Regions from separate parts of the Homo sapiens genome. Here region 1 is linked to region 2. The links are contacts of gene promoters, found by promoter capture Hi-C in human tissues and cell types (Jung and others, 2019). All regions are on one chromosome and are shown on one strand. The core of a region is centred on a gene start or on the middle of the fragment in contact, and the rest is flanking DNA. Distances in the headings are between cores, read along the strand shown. Region 1 overlaps NCOA6 (nuclear receptor coactivator 6). Region 2 holds the start of EIF6 (eukaryotic translation initiation factor 6).

The links. Contacts are between HindIII fragments. The study calls those that stand out against the background at their distance.
Region 1: a contact is called between a fragment that was not itself captured here and the fragment with the promoter of EIF6 in region 2, in 1 of the 25 tissues and cell types used here (dorsolateral prefrontal cortex).

The regions. Positions count from the first base shown.
Region 1 is chr20:34,715,326-34,718,671 of GRCh38, forward strand. NCOA6 (nuclear receptor coactivator 6) reads right to left here. Exons shown (of 15, transcript NM_014071.5): 15 at 1-40. Among named protein-coding and RNA genes, the nearest start is that of TP53INP2, 13 kb to the left of the region's middle. The HindIII fragment of the contact is 3,259 bases long and covers 399-3,346 here.
Region 2 is chr20:35,283,074-35,286,021 of GRCh38, forward strand. EIF6 (eukaryotic translation initiation factor 6) reads right to left here and starts at 1,699. Exons shown (of 7, transcript NM_002212.4): 1 at 1,653-1,699; 2 at 1,308-1,419; 3 at 1,103-1,188. The coding sequence starts at 1,414. FAM83C (family with sequence similarity 83 member C) reads right to left here. Exons shown (of 4, transcript NM_178468.6): 4 at 2,658-2,948. It overlaps FAM83C-AS1 (FAM83C antisense RNA 1), which reads left to right and starts at 2,178. Exons shown (of 2, transcript NR_109815.1): 1 at 2,178-2,242; 2 at 2,397-2,699. RefSeq lists a silencer at 1,429-1,618 and an enhancer at 1,711-2,261. The HindIII fragment of the contact is 18,620 bases long and covers 1-2,948 here.

The DNA.
Region 1 (3,346 bases), core at 778-3,277, 570 kb before region 2:
TTGGATTTTCTTCGCTTGGATTGCACCGCACTGGTTATGTCTGTGGGGGAAAGAAAGGACATGTTCAGTGGAAGTAACTCTTTACAGCAGTGCCCTTTAGACAGTCCACAACAAGCAGGGCAGACCTAAGGGGAGCCCTACTCAACTCAGAATCTGTCTAAGGGGTGCTCTGAATGGAGAGAGTCACAGGCTTTGCTTGATGACTTACGTGGGAAGAGGGTGTGGTCCTGCATTGGGCAGAATTGGAATGTGACAGAGGTGGTGGCGATGAAGCACACTGACTAGAGAAAGTGCAGGGTGGAGAGAGCCTTTGTAGCTGGGCAATTCACCCACTGTTTCCCTCACCAGTTCTCATCATAAAACGAAGTGTAATAGACAGACTGACAATGCTTTTGGTGAGAAATCAACGAGTAATGCCATAAGCAAATGAGTAAATTCTGTTAGAATGCAAAAAAAAACCTGCCTTGGGATCCCTTTTGGAGCCAAGCTATTGTTTCACAGTAAGGAACCATTTTTGTCATGCTATAGTCAAGGTCTAAACAACATGACCATGGGCCTTGGTCAGTGAGGGTCTACTATGGCCCAGCCAGTTATATCAAGATTGTGGAAGGCTGGGCGTGGTGGCTCACGCCTGTAATCCCAGCATTTTGGGAGGCCGAGGTGGGCGGATTGCCTGAGGTGAGGAGTTTGAGACTAGTTTGGCCAACATGGCGAAACCCCATCTCTACTAAAAATACACGAAAAACTAGCCGGGCGTGGTGGCGTGTGCCTTAATCCCAGCTACTCAGGAGGCTGAGGCAGGGGAATTGCTTGAACTACGGAGGTGAAGGTTCCAGTAAGCCGATATCCCACCACTGTACTGTAGCCTGGAGACAGCGAGACTCCGTCTCAAAAAAAAAAAAAAAAAAAAAGACTGTGGATACATACAGTCATGAATGCAATTCAGAATAAGCAACGGCCTGCTCTGAGCCCAAGTGAGCCTGAAGGCTTCATGGAGGAGGTGGGAACTGAGTGATTTACACACAGAATGACAGTGACATACAGGGAAATGACTATGTTTTGATTCCTTTAGTTTCTCTTGTACTATCAGTGTTTTAACTTAATCTTATGCCAGACTTAAACTGTGTTTCTTAAAAACGTTTTGGCCAGGTGTGATGGCTCACCCCTGTAATCCCAACACTTTGGAAGACTGACGCAGGAAGCTCACTTGAGCCCAGAAGTTTTGAGGCCAGCCTGGGCAAGATGGTGAGAACCCATCTCTACAAAAAGAAAAGAATTAGCTGGGTGTGGTGGCACATGCCTGTAGTCCCAGCTACTCAGGAGACCAAGTGGGAGGATCACTTGAGCCCAGGAGTTCATGGCTGAAGGAGTTCAAGGCTGAAGTGAGCTATGTTCATGCCACTGTACTCCAGCCTGGGTGACAGAGACCCCATCTCTATTTAAAAAAAAAAAAAAAATTCTACACAAAGTTATGGCAGAGTACAGTGAATAGCCTGAAGCTCTCCAAAGGTAAACACTTCTTTAGAATCTCATATTGACTTCAAAAGGTCACCTTTATTTCATATTCTGGTTTTAATATGAAAATAATGTTCTAAAATTACTTCTCATCAAGGAGAAAAAAAATGCTTCTAATATATCAATACAAAAGATGAATCAGATTTACCCATTTCTGGTAACTAGGCTGAATTTTCTGATACTGCATGTTAGGTTGTATTCAAGGCAAATTTTCCTTTGTCTTTTGTATCATAATATTTTGTGAACCCAGACTCTAATAAATATGTAGATTGTAAGGAAAAATTTCACTACTCTGTTAGCTAAGGTGACTGCTAAGAAGTGAGGCCTAGGCCAGGCGTGGTGGCTCATGCTTGTAATCCCAGCACTTTGGGAGTCTGAGGCGGGTGGATCACCTGAGGTCAAGAGTTCAAGAGCAGCCTGACCAACGTGGAGAAACCCCATCTCTACTAAATAAAGAAAATTAGCCAGGTGTGGTGGTGCATGCCTGTAATCCCAGTTACTCGGGAGGCTAAGGCAGGAGAATTGCTTGAGCCTGGGAGGTGGAGGTTGTGGTGAGCCGAGATTGCGCCATTGCACTCCAGCTTGGGCAACAAGATTGAGACTCCGTCTCAAAAAAAATAAAAAAATAAAAAGAAGTGCGGTCTAGATGAATTTCCAAGAGGTGCCCAGTACAGTAATTTCATTCAAGCCTCTGTTGGTGGAAATTTCAGTATGTTTGTCTTCTCAAAGGTCATGTTTTTTTTTGTGCCATGTGGTAGAATCAGTCTTTCTGATTTACTCATTAGTCTTTTACTAATCAGAAGACAGTTAATCTGCCAGGATGTTAATAATGGTGTTCTTTATTTTAATTCATGTAAATTAAAGAGTCTCACACAGCCCACATAACTCCCTAAAATCAACTCTTCAGGTCCAAATCTCAAGCGTTATTTTCACTGCAGCAAATTTGTCATTTGCAGTAAAAATAGGCAGGGTTTTTGTCTTGACAGTGTTCATCCTCAGCAAAACATTCATTAACTAGGTCAACTTTGGAAGCTTTTCCCTTGTTGTGATATGAAGGATCAAGTGGTATGTCTGAGAAACATATGTGGCTGGGAAAAGAAGTGGGTAGTGGGGTGTGGGGGAGAAGCAACCTCAGGCTCCCCCTCCTTCCTTGCTTGTTCCCATTTGTCACTGCTCCGAAGCACCCAATGAACTGGTAGGTTGCCTCTGAGCGTGAATCAATGAGTGGGGTCAGGAATAAACAAATGACTTGTGCTAGAAACTGCAAAAAAACCCACAAACACACCATTAAAAACCCTCATCTTTTGGATACTGTGGTTGGTGGGGAGAAGGATGTAAACTTTCATACTTCCATGAGGAAAAAAATAAATTTTAAACTGAGTTTGAAGTCTCTATCACCTTCCCTGGATAAATCCAGTCAATCTGAGACATAGAGCAAACCTCAGACTCAACATGTCTAAAACCAAACTTGGGATTTTCACCTCCAACAGTGAGGTCCTTTGCCACTGTTCCCCATCATGTCTGAAAAAAATCTGTCTGAAAAAAACATCTTTTGATGAGTTTTTTTGTTTTGGTAGTTGATTTTCTACTCCCTCCAAAATGTTACCACTTTTACTACTCTAATGAATAGGCAAATCACCTTTTTTTTTTTTTGAGATGGAGTCTTGCAAATTACTTTTTTTTTTGAGACAGTCTCGGATTGTCGCCCAGGCTGGAGTGCAGTGGTGCGATCTGAACTCACTGCAACCTCCACCCCCTGGGTTCAAGCAATTCTCCTGCCTCAGCCTCCCTAGTAGCTGGGATTACAGGCATGCACCACCACGCCCAGCTA
Region 2 (2,948 bases), core at 449-2,948:
CTGAGGTCAGGAGTTCAAGACCAGCCTGGCCAACATGGTGAAACTCCATCTCTACTAAAAATACAAAAAAATTAGCCGGGTGTGGCGGGATGCGCCTGTAATCCCAGCTACTTGGGAGGCTGAGGCAGGAGAATCACTTGAAGAGAGTGTTGCAGTGAGCCAAGATCGTGCCATTGCACTCCAGCCTGGGCAACAAGAGCGAAAACTCCATCTCAAAAAAAAATAATAATAATAATAAAAAGGAAAGGACCAACGACCAGAATTAACAGTGCTGACAGGTAGGAAGGTAGGGTAGAGATGTGGTAAAGGGAATTTAAGATTCCAACGTAACTGAGCAGGAAGACCGCATATCTTAGCTAATCTTTACAGAGACAGAAATGGATGCTTAGAAAGAGAAAGCACCTTGCCCAGTCAGTGGCAGGGAGAGATGAGATACAAATCCTCGGCTGGGTATAGTGGCTCTCGCCTATAATCCCAACACTTTAAGAGACCAAGGTAAGAAGATCACTTGAGCCCAGGAGATCAAGGCCAGGCTGGGCAACACAGGGAGGCCGCGTCTCTACCAAAAATGTAAAAATTAGCCAGGTGTGGTGGCACGTGCCTGTGGCCCTAGCTACCTGGTAGGCTGAGGTGGGAGGATCACTTGAGCCTAAGAAGTTGAGGATGCAGACAGCTGTGATCTTGCCACTGCACTCCAGCCTGGGCGAAAGAGCAAAAATCTGGCCTCAAAAAAAAAAAAAAAAGAGAAAAATCCTTCTCCAACACTAGGAACTAGGTGTGGAACTTACTGAGTCACTTAGGTCAAGTCTCAACTTCCTCATCAGTCAAGTTAGGCCAGTAACTCCTACCTTCTAGTGTCTTTGTGACGAAGGAATGAGAACAGGAGTGAAAGCACTTTACATTATTTGTTATTACTATTATCCAGCAGCCTTTGCTAGAGGGTTGCCCCGATCTCCTGACGCTTGGCCTGAGAGATTCTATAGTGCCCAGAGATAACAGATGATACCCTGGGAATCCCTAGGTCACTCCGGGTTCCCTCCGGGGGTGTAATTAATGGTGCTTGGAGACCACTCCCTCCCTCGGCGTCCTCCACCTGCCTTACCCACACACATGCGCCCGATGATGCGGCAGCCGGCGATAGACGCGTGCACCACGGGGATGGTATCGGAGAGCTCGCCCTCGAACACACTGTAGGGACATGGACTCGGTGGTGGCGGGGCAGAGGGGCCGGCACCCTCCCACTGCCGGAGCTCTTGACTCCTGCGCACGCCTCCCCGCCACCGTAAGCCCCGGGGCTCCCGCCGCACCTGTAGAAGTTCTCTGAGCCTCCGATCGCTACCAGACAGTAGGTGTTGGTGAGCTTGGCAAAGCAGCCGATCTCACAGTTGTTCTCGAACGAAGCTCGGACCGCCATGAGGCCTAGGGGCGGCGGAGGCGGGAGTTCAAGGCCGGCGGATCCTTTCCCAAGTATCCCGGCCTCCGTCCCTCAGGCCCCGCCGCGACCCCGCCCCTCTCGGCCTCCCGGCCCCTCCGTCCTCGGGTCCCGCCCACTGGGCCCCCACCAGAACCTCCGGCCCTGAATCCTCTGGCCCCCACCCCTCCCGACCCAGGACCGGAGCTGACCCTCCCAGGTTCCCCTCACACCAGCTTACCAAGTAACCAGTAACAAGCTCCGCACGCGGCGACTGTACCTTGGACTCCCTAAAAAGGTTTCCGTTTCCACTTCCGTCCAGGGAGACTTCCGGGAGAGCCCGGCGCTCCCCGCCACGCATCCAGCCCCTCTACCTCCGGCCTCCGGCGGACTCTATGGTCGCGAGCGGTCTGGGCGCGACCCCGCCTGGCCCCACGCCTAGCCTGCTCGCGTTCATTCATTCATTATTCATTCAGGAGCTTTTTAGGAGCTGTCATCGACCTAGACCTCCGGCTGGTCGGTTGTGAGGCATGAGGGAGAGGAGGGGCCAGGAGTGTCTCGCGGAAGGGTTGATGATGGAGGTATTGATGGAAATGAAGCCGGAGGAAGGGCAGGTTTGGGGAAAGGGATGAGTCCAGCTGTGCCTTGAGGGACAGAAGTCCATGTCTGGAGCCCAGCAGGGGAGTGGAGTGCTGACGAATGAGATGAGGGGCTGAAGACGGGTGGACTAGAAGAGGCTACCCATGGAGAGAGTTCCAGGAGGCAGAAGTGCGGCCAGACCGAGGCTGGAGAAAGAGCGCAGCCAGAGACGGAAAGGCAGCCAGGCTGCAGGTGCTGGAGAGAGGGGAGGACTGAGGAAGCAGGGGCTCAGGAAAAGGCTGGAAAGGGGTCCAGGGTGGGCAAGGATGTGGGTGCTGGTTGGCTTCCACGATGTGCCTCTCGCACGGCCTCTATCACTCACTCAGCAGCCAACTTCTGTCCCCAGGATAGTGATGGGGGCCAAGGGCCCTGCTGCACACTTGGACAGGATGAACTTGGCCCACATTTTGTAGAATCTGCAAAAGCCCCGGGTTCTCTCAAAATGTCACAGTGGTAACTTGGAGCCCCTGGACTCCCCCAATTCCTCCTTCGGCATTCACCCTCCTCCAGGGGTTTCCCCATAATTGGCCTGAATGGTGCCCTTCCCATTCCCCCAACGTGTCCCTCCCATAACTCCTCAAAGTTCAGGATACACCAGGCGCTGTGATTCACAATAAAGTCTGCCTTTATTGATGTGTATCATGTTTACTATCCCGGGTAAGTGGTGAGTTCAGGAAAATGGCCCACAACCTGTCACAGCCTGTACTTCAAGAGACACTCAGCAAGATGATGACGACGACAATGATGATGATGATGATGATGACTCAGCAAGATGATGACGACGACAATGATGATGATGATAATGATGATGTGTGTGTGTGTGTGTTTCCGGGTATCCACATACTCTGCTCTTCCTCACTCATTCACCTCAGACCCACTCAGTCCTCTTTAGGGCATC